Regions from separate parts of the Homo sapiens genome. Here regions 1, 2, 4 and 5 are each linked to region 3. The links are contacts of gene promoters, found by promoter capture Hi-C in human tissues and cell types (Jung and others, 2019). All regions are on one chromosome and are shown on one strand. Each heading gives the region's core, a stretch centred on a gene start or on the middle of the fragment in contact. The rest is flanking DNA. Distances are from core to core; before and after follow the strand shown. Region 1 has its middle 120 kb from the start of SEM1. Region 2 has its middle 9.2 kb from the start of SEM1. Region 3 holds the start of DLX6 (distal-less homeobox 6). Region 4 overlaps LOC105375411 (a long non-coding RNA gene). Region 5 overlaps LOC107986825 (a long non-coding RNA gene).

Region 1 (3,396 bases), core at 47-2,546, 410 kb after region 3:
TCGCAGATATTCAGATTCAGTAAATCTATCATGTGGCCCAGGAATGGACAATTTGAATGGGGGCCCCTACTTGGAGAAATGACGTTTTAAGAAAGTGTGCCTTTTTTTTTTTTTTTTTTTTTAATATGGGAGAATTACAGCAGAGAGGAGGGAAGAGCCTTCTCTAGAGCTTCAAGGACGGTAATATGTGGAAAACAGACAAGAAGGGTTGCTTTTGGTCCTAAACTTTCTCCGTTCCTTCTTTACCAGCTAACAAACATGCCCCCTGAGTTGTATAATATGAACCCTTCGACCAAATTAATCGATGCCTCAAAACTGGTCCTCTGGCAGTTACCGAAATCATGCTGTGTGGAAAAACAATCCTTTTCTCCTCAGAGGAGCTTGAAACCCTGTTAAGAAAATGACTTAGGCCATACTTAAAAACCTGCCACCTTCAACCTTCTAAATCTCTGCTCCTACAGATTGCTGCCCCGAATACGTGTGCTTTGTCTCTGCTTGTGCTAATGGTTTTCTGTGTTCCGTTCTCCAACGGAAGACAGCACGTGACAGCCGGTGTCATGGTGCTGCTGAAAAATGCATTCTCCGTGCCCAGGAAGAACCTGTATAAATATTCTCAATAAATAAATAACAGTTGTCATTTTCAGAATATGACAATCTCCAGCTGCCTGTGCTTAAAGTGAGCGATGTGTCATTTAGCCTAATAGATGTGAATGCACGTATTGTACATACAAGTGACTCACCTAATTCTTATTCACTTCAGTCTTGGTCTCAGTTGGGGGCAAGTGCCTCTAACAGGGTTTGGCTGGATCAAATCACAAGCTGAAAAATCTTGGTCAATTATCGAAGCCCGAGGCTAAGGAGGGAGTTGTCTTTTCATACCTCCTCACAGACCCCTCCTCTTCCCGGGCTTACCTAAGACGCCAGTCAACCTCCCATTGACTGGCGTCTTAGGTAAGCCAGTCATCCCATCTGTGGAATTTCTGGGACTCTTTCTCCCCCCTGTAATTTAATGTGACTCAGTTGTTCTCTGTCCTGATAATACCAGTGGTGAGAAAGTCGCTTAATCCTACTGGCATCCCCTCTTGTCAGCACCTCTTTATTTCCCTCTTTAAAGGCTCAACATGTTTTGATTTACAATACTCACCAAGATAACTGCAGGTGCCCTCTCTAAAAAGCAAGGTTAACTCACCTGAGATGAATTCTTTTATTGTAAACAAAAGCAACACATGAGCAGGAAATACAATTAATACAGGTGCTTCTCTGAAATTTAGCAAATGTCTGTTGTTTTGAAAGGAAAAAAAAAAAAAACTCCATTGCCTGGAGGTTTGTGTCATGCCATTTCAGTGAAGAAGGGATTTGAATTAGAATACATTTGAAGGAAAAAGGAATAGCCCTCTATGTTCAGGAAAGGCCCCAACAAAGACCCCATGTAAGGAACTATAAATTGTTTAAGGACTCAGGTTATTCAGGGGTAAGCAAAGTGTTGACCCAAACTGATGCTAATGTCTGAATTTCTGGGTAGAAGCCATCTGATGAAATCATCAGTTTTATATGGAGTGCATGTGTAGAGCTAGCTATATTGTTGCTAAGTAACTTTTTAAAGTACTCCAGTTAAGGCAACCTTTGTAGAACCTGTCATTTGACTCTCCTTGGAAATATATAATGAATATATTAATTCAAGGGAAGTGTTTTTAACTCTGTTAGAGGGAGGCAGATGTGCTAACTTTCTCTTCAGTTTGCTTGAGGTTCAGAGTTCGCCATTCTGGTGGTTGACAGTTCGTTGTTTTAAAACCTCAGAAGTTAACCGAAAGTCTTTTATTATGAAGAGTAGGTAAATCTTTTCAGGTGTTGCTGAAGAGATTTGCTGTTCGTGTAAAGAAATGATCAAAAAAGGAAATCAAACAAAATAAATACTGCAGTCCTACCAAACAGCTTAATTTTGTGAATCTTGTGTAGTTAGAGAAAATTAAGATTAAAAGCCATGAAAAACAAAAGGGGGAAATTGTAGACTTAACAGGAACACCTGACAAGCCATTACAATTAAATTGCCAAGTATATTACATCTATTTTTAAAAATCTTGATCACTTCTCTAAACAAGTAATGTTTCTTCTGCCTTTTAAATCTTGGTCCTGGTATTCGTTTACTTTAGATAGTTTCATCAAGAAAAGTGTTACTTTTCACCACTGGCTTGGGGTCCTTTTTCATATGCATTCACCTAGGGAACCACATTCCTATGTTTGTAACCCCGACCCTCCCTCTGACAATCTTCTTCCTCCACAGAGCACACACATAAAATTATGTTTCTACAAATGATTTTGGCATAGCCACACTTCCTCAATGGCGAATCTACCTGCTCTTGGAATGACAAGATGACAAGACTGCATGCTCAATTACACCTGCTCCTCTTTTTAAGTAATTGCCTTAGATCTTGCCAAATTATGTTGCTAGTTTTCTCAGGCACTCTAATTTAAATTAGAATGAAGCTGCTAAACTTTTATCAATTACTACATCCTAAGCAATGTCTTTGTTTTCAAGAATTCTATCTTTCATGACCCAATTACAAATGGCTAAAGAATCCTGCAGTTTCAGACCCCAGTATATATAATCATTACGTTTCCTTAAGCATAGTCTGTATATATAACTGGTTTTTCTGTATCTGTACTTTTATATAACAAAAAAGAGTGCTTGTTCGTGGAGTTTCCTGTGACTTGTAGAAATAAAAATGGCAAAGGAGTTAAGTTGCCAGATCTAGCAAATAAAAATACAACATGCCTAGCTGAATCTGAATTTCTAATAAAAATGAACTATTTGTTAGGATAAGTGTGTCCCCTGCAATGTTTGGGACATAATTATACTAACAAAAATTTCTTGTTTATCTGAAACTCAAATTTAAGTAGGCACTCTGTATTTTATCTGGGAACCCTAAAGTTGAGTAAAGCCAAAACTGATTTATATTTATGTGTTTCTATGAGTAATATTTTACCGGGAAATGAATGAGTTATATTTCAATTTTGATATTGGGGAAATATGAGATGATTAATTTAAATAATTGGTAAAAAATAAAATATAATTGGCAAGAAATATTAGCCTGAATGGGGGTTTCATGCCTTTTTTTGCATTCTAGTAAAATATAAATTTTCTCTGTATGCATAAATGTGAAAACTCCATTGTTTTCTGCCTGAATTAGCATTTGTTATTTTTGTGCATGACCCTCTAAAACACTTTCCATTACTCAAGTCATCTGCAGTCACTCAAAACTAGTGAAGCCTTATGAGAAAAGCAAATGGAGAAATAGTAGTCTAATTAAAATTAGCTCAGTTTGAGGAAGAAGGGACTCTGCTTTAAATTGGGACTGTCATAGGAAAAATATTAGGAAACAAATACCTCAGGTAATT
Region 2 (3,207 bases), core at 219-2,718, 290 kb after region 3:
AATTTTATACCTTTCAGAGAGTTGTGGACTTACATTTCTGCTCTATTAGTTCTTTAACCAAACTATGTGTTCCTACCTTAATCTTTCTTCATTCTCTTTGTTTAATTTTGGTTTTGGTTATTGAATTCCTTCCAACTCATCACCTTGGTTTGCAGTATGTATAGTTTCACTGTTCACCCATTGAACGACTATCACAATGCTTTTCCATCAGAAACCTTAAGACAAAGCACTGACATCTGCCATATATAATTACAAATATATCCAATTTGATGCCATAATCAACCTAGGGTGTTTTCATTTTACTCATCAGAATATTAAATAAGTTCTGTGCAATGCTGTTTACTTAACTTGATTTTAAATTCTGATGTTAATTGTGTAATATCAGACATCTCACTTAAGCCCTTTGTACTTTTGTTTTTATATCTGCAAAAGGAGAGCACAACATCAGCTTCAGCCTCCTTTGCTGTAATCTTATGAATATAAATATGCTATTCTAGGGCTAGAAAGAGATTTTTCAGAGAGAAAAACACCTCACTTCCCAGCTTTCAGACAGAATCACACAGGATAAATTATTCTCAATATATGAAGTTCAAATGACACTCTTTTCTGCTTACAGTAATTTATGCTAAATCAATCCATCTCCATTTGTAGTAAAGGGCAAATTTTTAAAATTCAAAAATGCCATGGGCTGATTTTTATAAAATACGAAATCACAGGGTTGGATGAAGTGGCAGTGTCAAACTGCTCTAAGAGTTTCTACATGTTTATGCTCACTTTCTATAGTTGTCTTTTATAGGCGCTGGTCCAGGGACCCCACTTTGAGTAGCTCTGTGCTAGACAATTATATGCCTCACCTTCAGATTCAGATATAGGCTCAGAGGCCTGACAGATACTTTTCAAGATAACTCTTTCTCTTCTAATGATTAACATTAGACTTGATTTTACTTTTCAATTTTTGTACTTCAATTCAAAATCAACTTTAAAAAAATAGAATAGCAAATCAATTAATCATTCCTCTCAAAACATTTGATTACATATTTCTCATTTATTTATCGTCACCTTTTTTCAAAGTGTGGCAATCCTTAATTCATATCATAAAATCAAATCTGAATGAAAAATACTTTTAAGAAAGAAGAAAAAATTAATTCCATGGAGCTTACACCAGACCCCTGAGTTACAGAATGATCCCTTAGTCACAGCGATGCTAGCAGCTCCACTTCTCAAACTGACACTAGTCTCTGGCAGCCTACCGTCAGGGATAGGCTGACAGCAAGCAAACACATTCCAATCAAAAGGAAGGCAAAATCACCCAGTGCTAATTCTACCCCACCTGGCAGTCTGCCACCAACCTTTACTCTTCGGATTTAAGACATAGATCGTATATCAGAAATAACTGGAGTAGCTATTACATAAGTTGGTTATGGGATGCATATGCTTTCAGCTAGCATCTTTTATAGTTTGGGTACAAGAAAAATTTTGAGTTTTAGCACTCTTTTCTGGAATAGGCTTCTCTTATTTTTAGTGGGTTTTAATTATGTTGAGAAGGAATTAAATAATGATATATTGAAATTTCATTTTTCCAGGGAATTAAAAAAAAATAAAATTAATTGGAAAACATGAAATGTGAGGAAATATTAAATACAGTTTTAAACTGAACAAACGTAATCCATAAGTTACACATTGGGCTTTTTATGATCTAAAAATTTCTTCCAAGAAAAAGAAAAATTGAAATTCAAAGACTTATGAGCTTGTTTCAAAAAATAGTAAAAATAAGTTCCAACTGGTATAAGAACATGGATAAAGTACCAACTCATGGTCAAGGTACAACATGATACCAGGGCAAATAATAGCACAGGATGAGTGAGGTATTAGCAGAGAAGAAACTTTAAATGCAGAACATTTTATACTACTTTAAGGGATTTTATACAACTAAGAAAACATATATATATATATACACACACACACATATGTATAAATAGCAGAGAAAGTGTATTAAAACAATATATTTCTGATGAAGTTCTTCTTTACACAATTTTCTAAGAGCAAGCACATGGCCAATGTGGATTAATCATTAATGAATTTAATAAAGTGAACAGATTATTAGCTCCTAAAGCTAGTTATTTTGTTTTTCAAATGTTTCAAATGTGCCAGATGTTTCATAAAAATAGTTTTTATTATTTAAAATGATTTATGAGGCTAGAATGCCCAACTTCTATTTCTGTGTTAAAATCTAAATGTTAAAAACCGTTAACAGACAAACAGAATTTACAGTTCAGTTAGCAGTCACTGAATGTGAAAAGAGTTCTTAAAATGCTCCTCTTCAGAGCCATTCTCGTTCCCATAGAAACCAATGTGAGATCCTGGAAAACAAGGTAAGTTCTAAAATAATCACCATTATAAATACCCATTATATAAATGTAAATACAGGCAATTGAAATGATTTAGATGATTTTGAAATTGCATATCATTTCCCAAACCATAATGATTCCTTCAGAGTGGTTCCTGTCTGTCATATAAATACAGCATTTACAAAATTTTAAAAATTCTTATGATTTACCTGTGAGACCATAATCGCCTTTTCAAACAAGTCTTGGGCATGCAAATACCGATTTTTGAACAGGTAGTTTGGTCCAAAATAGGGTCTTTTTGGGCTGGGCTCTTATGTTGTGGTAGATTAAGTACTTCTCATTATTAGCATTTACATTTTCAATAACTGTATCTTTATTCATTAGTAATTGTTCTACAATGAGATCTAAATATTTCAGGGAGCTTACAATGATAATTTTTCATATTTTCATTTGTCCAGGCATTTTGTTATGACAAAAGAGCCAAAAAAGCTCCGTCTATTTGGGATTGTAATTCTTCCCAATGTCCAGAATCAATCACTGGGTACAAAGTACTCATAATACTAATAAAGATGTGAGTGTGAGTTGTTCCCAGGTATATATACACCTTCCAAGAAGAGCTAAGCTCCTCCCCCATAAACCAAGCCATTAAACATATCACACACAAAAATCAACTCAAAGTGGATTAAAGGCTTAAATATAAGACCGGACACTGTAAAACTCCTAAAAGAAAACAGGAGGAAAGCTTCCTCATATTGGTCTAAAAACTATTTTTTGAATATCCCAAAAGTAAAAATAGACAAGTGGGACTATATCAAACTCAAAAGCTTCTCGACAGCCAAGGAAACAGAATGAAAGGCCA
Region 3 (3,166 bases), core at 371-2,870:
AATGACTCTCCTGAGGAGGACCAAATCCTCAAACAAAACACAACCAACAGCTCAGACCAGCCCACGAGCAGGCTGCGCCTCTCACGGCAACTTTGTCCCCCTCGGGTGCTGAGAACCATCAGCCCGAGGTTCTTTGCTTCCCCTCCACGAACAAAGGAGCAGCCAACACTGTAGCGAAAAGCTAGATAGGGGGCCCGGTCAGGGATGAAGGTGAGGGACACTTTAAAGCCCACTGGAAAGAGCCTGACTGTTACTAGTTTAACCAGAGCGAAAGCCAGGCCAGCTTCCCTCCGAGTCACTGAGGAGCACGGGGCGCCCCACGCAAAGTAGGCCACTGCCTGCCCAGCGTGGGCTGGGAAGCAAAACACGCTCCCCAGTTCCGGCCCAGAAATGTCCCCAGCCGGGTCAAACGTGGGTTACAGCCTGGAGGGAAGGAGCAAGGAAAAGGGCGCACAGACCCAGGAGGCTGGAGAGCGCAGTGTGGACTAACTCGTCGAACGAAGCCTGCGCCGGGCCCGGGACTCAGCCCGAACTGCGCGTCGGAAGCTGAGGGTCCGCGGCGGCGGGAAGGGGCCCGGCTGGGAGAGGCCGGCAGGCAGGCGCCAGGCGAGCGGGCGCGCACGGGGCCCGGCCAAGGGCGCGCGGGGCCGCCTGGGGGAGGGGGCCGGCGGAGGCCCGGGCGTCGAGGAAGTGAGCGGGCGGGCGGGGTAGGGGGCAGTCGGGAGGCGGGAGAAGCGAGCTGCCCCAGCGGCCTCTCACCTGTGTCGTCCCCTCGCGTCTGGGCGGCTGCGCTGCTGTTGTGGTAGGACTGGAGGTAAGGGCTGTGCTGCGAGTGGCTCATGTAGGGGTAGGCGGCGAGCGAGCGGTGGTTGTAGGAGTTCCCTCCGCCCGACGCGTAGGGCGAGCCGTGGTGGTGGTGCTGGTGGTGGTGGTGGTGGTGCGAGCCGGCCGCTGCCGCCGCCGCCGCCGAGTGCAGGCAGTGCAGAGGGTAGTGCGCGCCTGCCATGGCCGGGGAGCTCTGCTGCGAGTGCGGCTGCGGCGGCGGCGGCGGCGGCGGCGGCGGCTGTTGCTGTTGCTGCTGCTGCTGCTGCTGCTGTTGCTGCTGCTGCTGCTGCTGCTGCCCGAACTCCATGAAGGCGGATTTGGACGAGTCCTGGCCTTCCAAGCCGTCAGCCATCGTAGTCATGGTCATCATCAAAAACTTTGGGGGCTGGAGAAAGCCTTCTCCCGGGTTTCCTCCACCCTCCCCCACTTGGCTCGCGCCGCTCTCCCCTCTGCAGCCACCTTAGCTCTTTGGATCCTTGCAAAAAAAAAAAAAAAAAAAAAAAAGAATTTAAAGAGGGGGGTGGAGGTGGTTCTCCCTCTCCCTCGCTCTTCTCTAATATATATATATATTTAATATAAAGAGATATAGTGAGCGGGGCCTTGTTAACTCAAAGGGAGGAGGAAGGAGGAGGGATGGGAGAGGAGAGGGGGAGGGGGGAATCTGCTCTCCCCCCGCCTGCTTTCCCCCCTTGGATTTTTTGGGGGCTGGTGCAGTTTAAGGCAGAGATTTTAAGGTGGATTCTGCGAAAGTTGCGCGTCTGCTTTCAGACTTGATGCAGACGCCACGAGTCGAATGGTTTGTCTCCAAAGGGCAGTGCCTCCCCATTGGTCAGTCGCCCCCTGACGTCACAGGCGCACGGCTTCTACTGGCGTGTGCGCGACTTGCAGAGTTCTTCGCCTACCTTCCGCAGTTCCAATCCCAGCCGGAGCTGCAGCCGGGGGCCGCGCTGTGTGGCGCCCGGGGCCGTTGGGGAGGGAGGCGCCTCTGCCCGGCCGGCCGCCGATGCTTCCCGCCGCAGCTCGTGCCCCAAATCCCGGAGCCCCAGTTGCCAATATCTCAGCCTTGAAACAGCCAACTGGGGGCTGCTCTCTTTCAATCCCTTTGCACCCTTGTAGGTTGCCTGTGCTTAGAAGCAGTGACCCCACCCCCGCATTAAATCCAGGCCCCCCTTTCTTGACGTCCCTGCCACTCTGGTCCTACTACACTCTTGTGGGAGCTCCTTGTCACCGTGGATTTTTCTAGACGTATTTTATTGAAACCACAGAAGGAAGACGAACCCTCACACCTGGGCTCCACCCCACTGGGGGGTGGTACAGAAAAAGAAAAATCAGACCCTGTTCTGGCTCGGTCCCTGCCGTTTCAGGCCGTATTTCTTATATATTGTACAAAAGGTTGTGGGGGGGGGGGGCGTCTTTTTTTTCTTTTCAGAACGCAGCAGCGTGTTCTGAAAACGAATCGTTGGAGGACTGACAGTAATGCATTTTTTCCTATTGAAAACAGAAGCTACTGTAATGCTTTCAAATATATGCAAATGATACATGCGGTTAGTGGTTTGGCAAATCTTGATTACAATATAAACTACCCAAGTAAAAGTGCCTTCGTCCTAAATTTGTCTCTCGATTACAATTCCAATTGATTTTATTTTATTGTCAACATTGTTAATGATAAAAATAGAGTCGTTTTACAGTTATTTTTACTTTCTGGAAGGAGGCAATTAGAGTTCTAATCAGGAATACACAAAAATCTCCCATGATTAACTGCAGTACTTTGTTCAAATTGCTGCTATAAAATTCAGAACAATTTGCCTGTAATGATTATGGACTGGGTTTATTTTGGGAGGTGGAATAAAAGTGGATATAGCATAAATTATCCTCTAATTATACACCAGTGTCGCCTCAATTATCCTCTTATCAAAATGGTTGTCTAACTGCCGCATTTAGTTTCAATTCTCTCCTTTTTTTCTATAAAAAGAACTTCATACCTTGTTATTATTAATCCATTTATTATTTGCAAGGGGATTTATATCCGCACATCCAGGTGGTAGAACCACTTCTCTTTCAAAGATGGACTGGGGAAAGACATTAAGTTCGGAGCAGCCCAAGGCTGCGGATCTAGCCTTTCTCCCTCCGGTCTCCAGACCCACGCAGGTTAAGGCAGCCAAGCAGAGACAGCGGAGCCCCGGTGCGTGGTTCAGGCCTGGTCAACAGGTAGGAGGGCCAGACTGGGGGCCAGGCACAGAGGAGGGCAGGCCCGCCCGCACCGGCGTCCAGGGTCCCGGGTTCCGGGTCCCGGGACTGGAGGAGGTCGCCGGCAGCCCGCCCTTCCAGAGGCTTGAGATTG
Region 4 (3,160 bases), core at 120-2,619, 510 kb after region 3:
AATGACAGGTTGAAGTCCACCACATTTGGATGGTTTTTAGTCTTTCCTAACATTAAGGCATGTACTTATCATCATTGAATTCAATAACTTTGTGGAACAATCTTCATTAGCCTCAAGTTAATGATTAATCAAAAAAGATTGGGTTTTTTTGTGTGTGTGTGAAAGGTCTATATACTACTAAGATGCCCTAAATCAGAGAGTTGAAGAAGGCTAGCCAATTATATGTTGCTCAGATCCACTCCCTGCTAAGTAGGAGTTAATATTACTAAAGGTCAGTGAGAAAACATTTTAAAACCTGCCTTGACCATTTATTTCCATATAGAGAAGTGGACTTAACATCAACTCTGGATGTCATCGTAGCTTTCAGACCTACTGAGACTTCTGTGGCAAGGCAGGATGGAGAAAAGAGTAAACCAGGACTAGAGGGGACAGATGAGCTCTACCCACTAACTGAGAATCTTGGCCATTACTTAGAACGTGCAGAGGGTTAACAGTGACCTTAGGTCTGATTCCAACTTGTCACGATATTGAAGAAGTCTGATCTCATGGCAGGAGCACCACAATAGTCTTTAGGCAGTAACATCTTGGTTCTTTGGGATTTCATAATAAGAGGCAGACTTTTTTCACAAAATCCAGTTGTAGCTAGGTATAAATCTGTGGCAAAAGGAGTAAGAACAAGATCCAGATTTTGAAGGAAAGTTGGTAAGAGCTAGAAAGGTTTTCAGGACCACAGCCAAATGTAGTCCAGGCCTGGCAGGGACCTGGAAGGAGTGAAATCCAGGAGCCAAGATGAAAATCTAACCTCCTCTCCAGGAACATGTGCTACAGGATACGAGAAGAAGCTGCAGCAAAGATAATCATGAAGTGCTTTTTGAGAATTAAGTAGAAACTAAAGCAGTATAAGGAAGCACAGATAAGTTAGAATAGCAGTGGTGAAGACCTCAAATCCCTTCATGCATTAAAGCTGAGATCTCTAAACTGGAATCCATTTACGGAGTTCAGAGGTCCCCCTGGAATATGCACAAAATATTCTTAGGTGGACACATATGTGCAGTTTTCTGGGAGGAAAGTTCATAGCTTTCATCTGATTCTCAAAGTAGTTTGTGATCCAAAAAATGTATGACGACTGGCCTGAGTGAAGTTCATATAGACTTGATTATTTGGTAGTTACATTCGTGAGACATATTTCCTTAACGTTTGAACTCATAAAAAAACACAGGTAGTAAGTAGTGAAATCACAGCATTTTCACAGGTTGCTGTTCTTCATATCCAAAGAGGACCCACTTGGCCCAGAGAGCCACCTGCCTTCGATGCGGCCACCAAGAAAGACTAAGGCCTGATCAGCAGGCCAGTGTCCCCTTTGCTGACACTGTATTCTCAAGACTGCCCTGGGTGTGTGGCTTCACCTCTCTCTTTTTAGTCCAGTGTTGTTTGTATCATGGAGACTAAAATGTATCTATGGAAAGGGTTCTTAAACTCCTATTTGCAAAGGGGTGCCAGACTGACAAGGTTTTTCATGGTTCATGTAAAAATGAGAAGAACAGGGAAAATTAAATGAATTTTCTTTCACAAAACTAAATCTATTCAATTTAAGTAACTATCCTTTATTCTGATAAGGTCAAAAAATTATACCCTTACTAATTATTTGATGTTAAACAAAATATGTGTTGATGGTGATATTTGATGGTGGTTTTGTTCTTTGATTTTTATTCTACTTGATCTATGTTGGTCTCCAATTTAAAACAAAACAAAAAACGTTTTTCTAGCCCATGAAATCAAAATTGTAGGAATTGTTTCCTGATATACTCAACAGCAATGCATCTAGCCTACAAGTGACTGCCACAATCCGATCAAATGTTTGTTTTTCCACTCTATGCCTAGTGACTACTCATGTGACTGATTTTCTGTGGTGGAGTTGGAACAAAAATAGGCACAACTGACTTGTTTATTTGTTAAGTACATGCCTGGCTTAGACAATGAGGATAGCATCAGGACTTAGTAGTTCCATCTTTAACTTAGAATGTGCACAGCATCACATTTAGTAAATGCTCGTTGAAATAAAATTGACTCGCTTTGTTCAAGACACATAAGGAACCCTCATGCAGTTCCCTCCTGCCCGCTGTGAGTCACATTCGGCCAACTGCCACCCGGCACAGGGCTACTCACTTTCTGTGAGTGAAAAGTAGCTCTTATAAAGGGATGGAGTATTACGGCAAGAATCTACTTATGAGAGTCTCAGTCTCAATTTTATTAATGACTTATTCTGTGACCTGAAATGGTCACTCAAGTGGACTTTCTATCCTACTTGCAGAGAATGAAAAAGTGGCAAATTACTGTTGTTGCCTAATAGTCTTAGTATAAGGACATTAGGCTGAATTAGTTATGTAGGCATTATTCAGGAACAGAAATTTCTTGACATAACTATGGACTTCAAAAATTGTGAAGCTGAAATATTTTAATCTCAGGATAAACCCATTATTTAAGTTAAGGTACTCTTGAGAACAAATATGATTACTTCATTGATGTATTCACACCAGAGTATTAAGACATTTTGGTTTTTGAAAAATCTATGTGCTTCATTCTTTATCAGTTGGATAGTGTCTATTATAGTTAAAGCTAGTCTATTAAATAATCTTTATATAAAATGATTTTATAGAAAACCTATTAAAATAAATGTCTTGTACAGAAAAGTTATAATGGGACAGAAACTATTATTAAACTCATTTTCAAGAATGATTCTCTACAAGAAATACTTTGTATGACCTTTGTGTAACCTTCTCAAGGTTACAGGGTTACTTGGACAAGTCAGGTAACATCTCCCTGCTCCTCGACGCTATAAATAAGAATAGAAGCTACCTCAAAGAATTAAATGTGGTAACACATGTATGTTAGAAGAGCAGGACACACAACAATCATTTGACAAACTTTAGCTAATATTATATTCTTCTTATTATTATTGGCACACTTGAAGTATCAGTTGCAGAATACGTTAACAGCAAGAAAAAAGCTCTGAACAATCTTATGGTGTATTGTTCTACCATTAAGTTGCAAGTTTCCCTCAATTCATCTCTGTCGTATCTTCCTGAGAAAACAGCAGAATAGAAATAAGTTCAATCATTCTCCATCTCAAACCTTATAAGACTCTCAGAAAAACCTATCT
Region 5 (2,964 bases), core at 245-2,744, 440 kb after region 3:
ATATCAGAAGAGAAAATTTATATTATTATGCTCAGAAAGGGTATGAAGGTATTTAAGTTCAAAATCCATTGTTGGTTTTAAAAGACTCTTGATAAAAAAATAATAAATAGATATTTTTAATATCCATCTAATTGACAGCCAAAACCTGCATTGTGCTGAGTGGTGAAACTACTCAAAATATTTTCAACAGGAGAAAGACAATGATGTCCACCATTACAATGATTACTTCTCATTGCTTTAGAGGTTATAAATGTGGAATTGGAAAGGAAAAAAAATACAAAGGTTTGAAGAGATGACACAGAATTATCATTATTTACATATATGATTAAATTTTACAGCTGGAAAACACCACAAACAATAAAATAACATTAATGCAAACAAACCAATTATTTTCCTATGTATAAGTGAAAGTTACATTAAAATATAAAGGGATAAAGGTAGTATTTGTCATAGGAACAAAATGATAAAATGTAATACGAGTAAATTTAAGAAATGTTCAAGACATATATAAAGGGACTTTAAAAGAATGAAGGATAAAACAAGAATTGAAGAAATATAATGATATACCTTTTATTGGATAAGAAGACTCAATATTTTGAAGGCAGCAAATCTCTCTGTATTTACCTATACATTAATTTTATTCCAATGAAATTACTTCACAGATAATTTTTAGAGTAGGGAGCAATTTAGAAACACATAAATTTCTGACGTGACATTAGTTCTACAAGGTACTAAATGCTATATTAATTAAAACACACTTTTACTGGCACATAGAAACAAAACACAATAGACCAAAGGAAGAGTTGAGATGTATACCAAAATCCTCATGGTAATGTGGCTTGTTATCAAAGAAGTATTTCAAAACCATGCCCAAACAAATTTACTTAATAACTAGTCATGAACAATTGCCTAGTCTTCTGGAAAAATAATGAATTAATTCTTACTTCAGATGGATTTATACCAAGATGAAATCAAATATCAGAGATTTAATCACTACAAAAGGAAATTCTAAAAGTACTGAAAGAAATTATGTGAGAATTTAAAAATTAATCTTGTAATGAGAGAAGCCTTTCTAAGCATGGCACAAAGCTTAGAAGCCATAAAAGGTGATAAATTTGCCTACATAAAAATTAAACATTGTCTGCATAGCAATAGAATACTATAAATTCAATGGCATTGACAAAGCAGGAAGAATATTTGTAATATGCTATATATAATAAAGGGCTATCTTTCTTATTATATGAAGAGTTCTTATGAATCAATTAGAAAAAATATTTTAAAACCAGTAAGGAAATGGGAGGATGACATGAGCAGGCAGTTTATAGAAAAATAAGTTCAAACAACTTATAATGAATTAAAGTTCAATTAAATGAAATGAAGATATTTTCAGCCTTGTCAACCATTAAATAAATGTTTATTAAAATAACATAATATGTAATTTAAACCTATCAGATTGACATACTAAAACATGCCTGTATGATTGTATTTGCACATTATCTCTCCAGGGTGAATAATCTCAGATGTTAACAGTATTTGCCTCTCTGTAAGGTAACCAGGGAACAAGGATGAGATGAGCATGTACTTTTTACGGCATATTATACTGTATGTTTAACTTTTTAAACTATGTGTGTATCACTTTTATAGAATAAAATAATATTTTAAAATATAAATTGAAGCCAGAAAAATTAAATAGATTAATTAATGTCACACAACAAACTGCAGATGTTTCATTAAAGCCTAGGACTGTATGATTTGGACTAAAGTGCTATATGATTTGGACAAAAGTGCTATATGATTTGGACAAAAAGTATATTGTTGACATTAATTTGCATTATTCTTTCTAAGCTTTTATCAGAGAATCCAACATGACAAGGATAATGTGTACATGAGCTATCTTGTGAAGAAGATCTGTGGGAACACTTGTTGAGAGGTTGATATTTTTATTCTCTGCACTGTTTTCTATTTTTGTATTTTACTAATAGAGATAGGAAGCAACTTGTGACACCTTTGTTTTTAACAAGCATCTCTGACAGAGCTAGGGTTTTAAAAAGTCTTCTTTTTAAAGCTTTTTAAAGCCTTTTTTCATCAGTAAAATTAGTGCTGTGTGTGTGAATAAGTGTGTGTAATCATTACTCAAGCTTCAGACTATTAAATTACAAAACCTGAATTGAGGGTAAGAGTATATTTTGTTCTATTTAGTTGCAGTGAACTAAGGGACTCAAGGAATTTATCTCTGGAACATAAAAAACACCTCTGTTGAAGCTGAACCAGAGAATTTACTTTTTTCTTCTTTTTCTTCTTCTTTTTTCAAATCACAGAATCCACTTACTAAAATTGTGCCTCACAGAGCATTGACCTTTAGACTATAATGGCTGCCTCCGGGCCATTACAACTTATAGTGCAATACCTTCTAATCTTCCAACCTACAAGTAAAGGTTATGAAGTTTTAGAGCACAAAGTACCTAACTCTTTGCTTGTAAATTCACTTTCTCCACCAAAATCCAAAACAATTAGCCTATTTGGGGGACTTTTAGTATATGGAATGACATTTTTTAAAAACCAAATTTATCTTTGAGTAGAAAAGGGGATTTTAAAAAGGTATAATATTCTAGGATAATGGTTTGACTAAAACCCTAAAGGCCACCAGATAAGACCTCCTGCTCTGATGAGGATTCCTGGATTGTTCTCTGAGTTTATAGGGAGAGGAATGGAGGACTAGGTTTTGTTTGGTGTAATCTATCTTTCTCTGTGAAAATGCACATCAAAATTTAAGTAAGTAGTGAGAATATCACTAATTTTTTTCTTCTGCTTATGTTTTCTAAAGTTTAAGTCAACAAACATATATTAATTACATTTAAAGTTTAAATGCAACTTTTTGTAAAATTTGGAAAATACAAACACAATAAGGATGAAAAATAGACTTACCATATAAGTTTTCTTGGTTTTCTATCAATATTTTCTGTA

The links. Contacts are between HindIII fragments. The study calls those that stand out against the background at their distance.
Region 1: a contact is called between a fragment that was not itself captured here and the fragment with the promoter of DLX6 in region 3, in 1 of the 25 tissues and cell types used here (mesendoderm cells).
Region 2: a contact is called between a fragment that was not itself captured here and the fragment with the promoter of DLX6 in region 3, in 3 of the 25 tissues and cell types used here (adrenal gland, liver and neural progenitor cells).
Region 4: a contact is called between a fragment that was not itself captured here and the fragment with the promoter of DLX6 in region 3, in 1 of the 25 tissues and cell types used here (thymus).
Region 5: a fragment that was not itself captured here is called in contact with the fragment with the promoter of DLX6 in region 3 in 4 of the 25 tissues and cell types used here (aorta, mesenchymal stem cells, neural progenitor cells and 1 more).

Annotation. Positions count from the first base shown.
Region 1 is chr7:96,589,726-96,593,121 of GRCh38, reverse strand. It overlaps a transcript of SEM1 not described here. Among named protein-coding and RNA genes, the nearest start is that of SEM1, 120 kb to the left of the region's middle. RefSeq lists enhancers at 860-1,359, 922-1,829. The HindIII fragment of the contact is 5,172 bases long and covers 1-3,396 here.
Region 2 is chr7:96,717,422-96,720,628 of GRCh38, reverse strand. No RefSeq gene overlaps it. Among named protein-coding and RNA genes, the nearest start is that of SEM1, 9.2 kb to the right of the region's middle. The HindIII fragment of the contact is 5,097 bases long and covers 1-3,207 here.
Region 3 is chr7:97,004,007-97,007,172 of GRCh38, reverse strand. DLX6 (distal-less homeobox 6) reads right to left here and starts at 1,620. Exons shown (of 3, transcript NM_005222.4): 1 at 760-1,620. The coding sequence starts at 1,195. The region is part of intron 1 of DLX6-AS1 (DLX6 antisense RNA 1); the gene reads left to right. RefSeq lists a silencer at 770-869 and an enhancer at 2,182-2,903. The HindIII fragment of the contact is 17,411 bases long and covers 1-3,166 here.
Region 4 is chr7:96,498,438-96,501,597 of GRCh38, reverse strand. The region is part of intron 2 of LOC105375411 (a long non-coding RNA gene); the gene reads right to left. It also overlaps a transcript of SEM1 not described here. Among named protein-coding and RNA genes, the nearest start is that of SLC25A13, 180 kb to the right of the region's middle. The HindIII fragment of the contact is 4,858 bases long and covers 1-3,160 here.
Region 5 is chr7:96,564,808-96,567,771 of GRCh38, reverse strand. It overlaps LOC107986825 (a long non-coding RNA gene), which reads right to left. Exons shown (of 3, transcript XR_001745289.2): 1 at 2,926-2,964. It also overlaps a transcript of SEM1 not described here. Among named protein-coding and RNA genes, the nearest start is that of SEM1, 140 kb to the left of the region's middle. The HindIII fragment of the contact is 5,791 bases long and covers 1-2,964 here.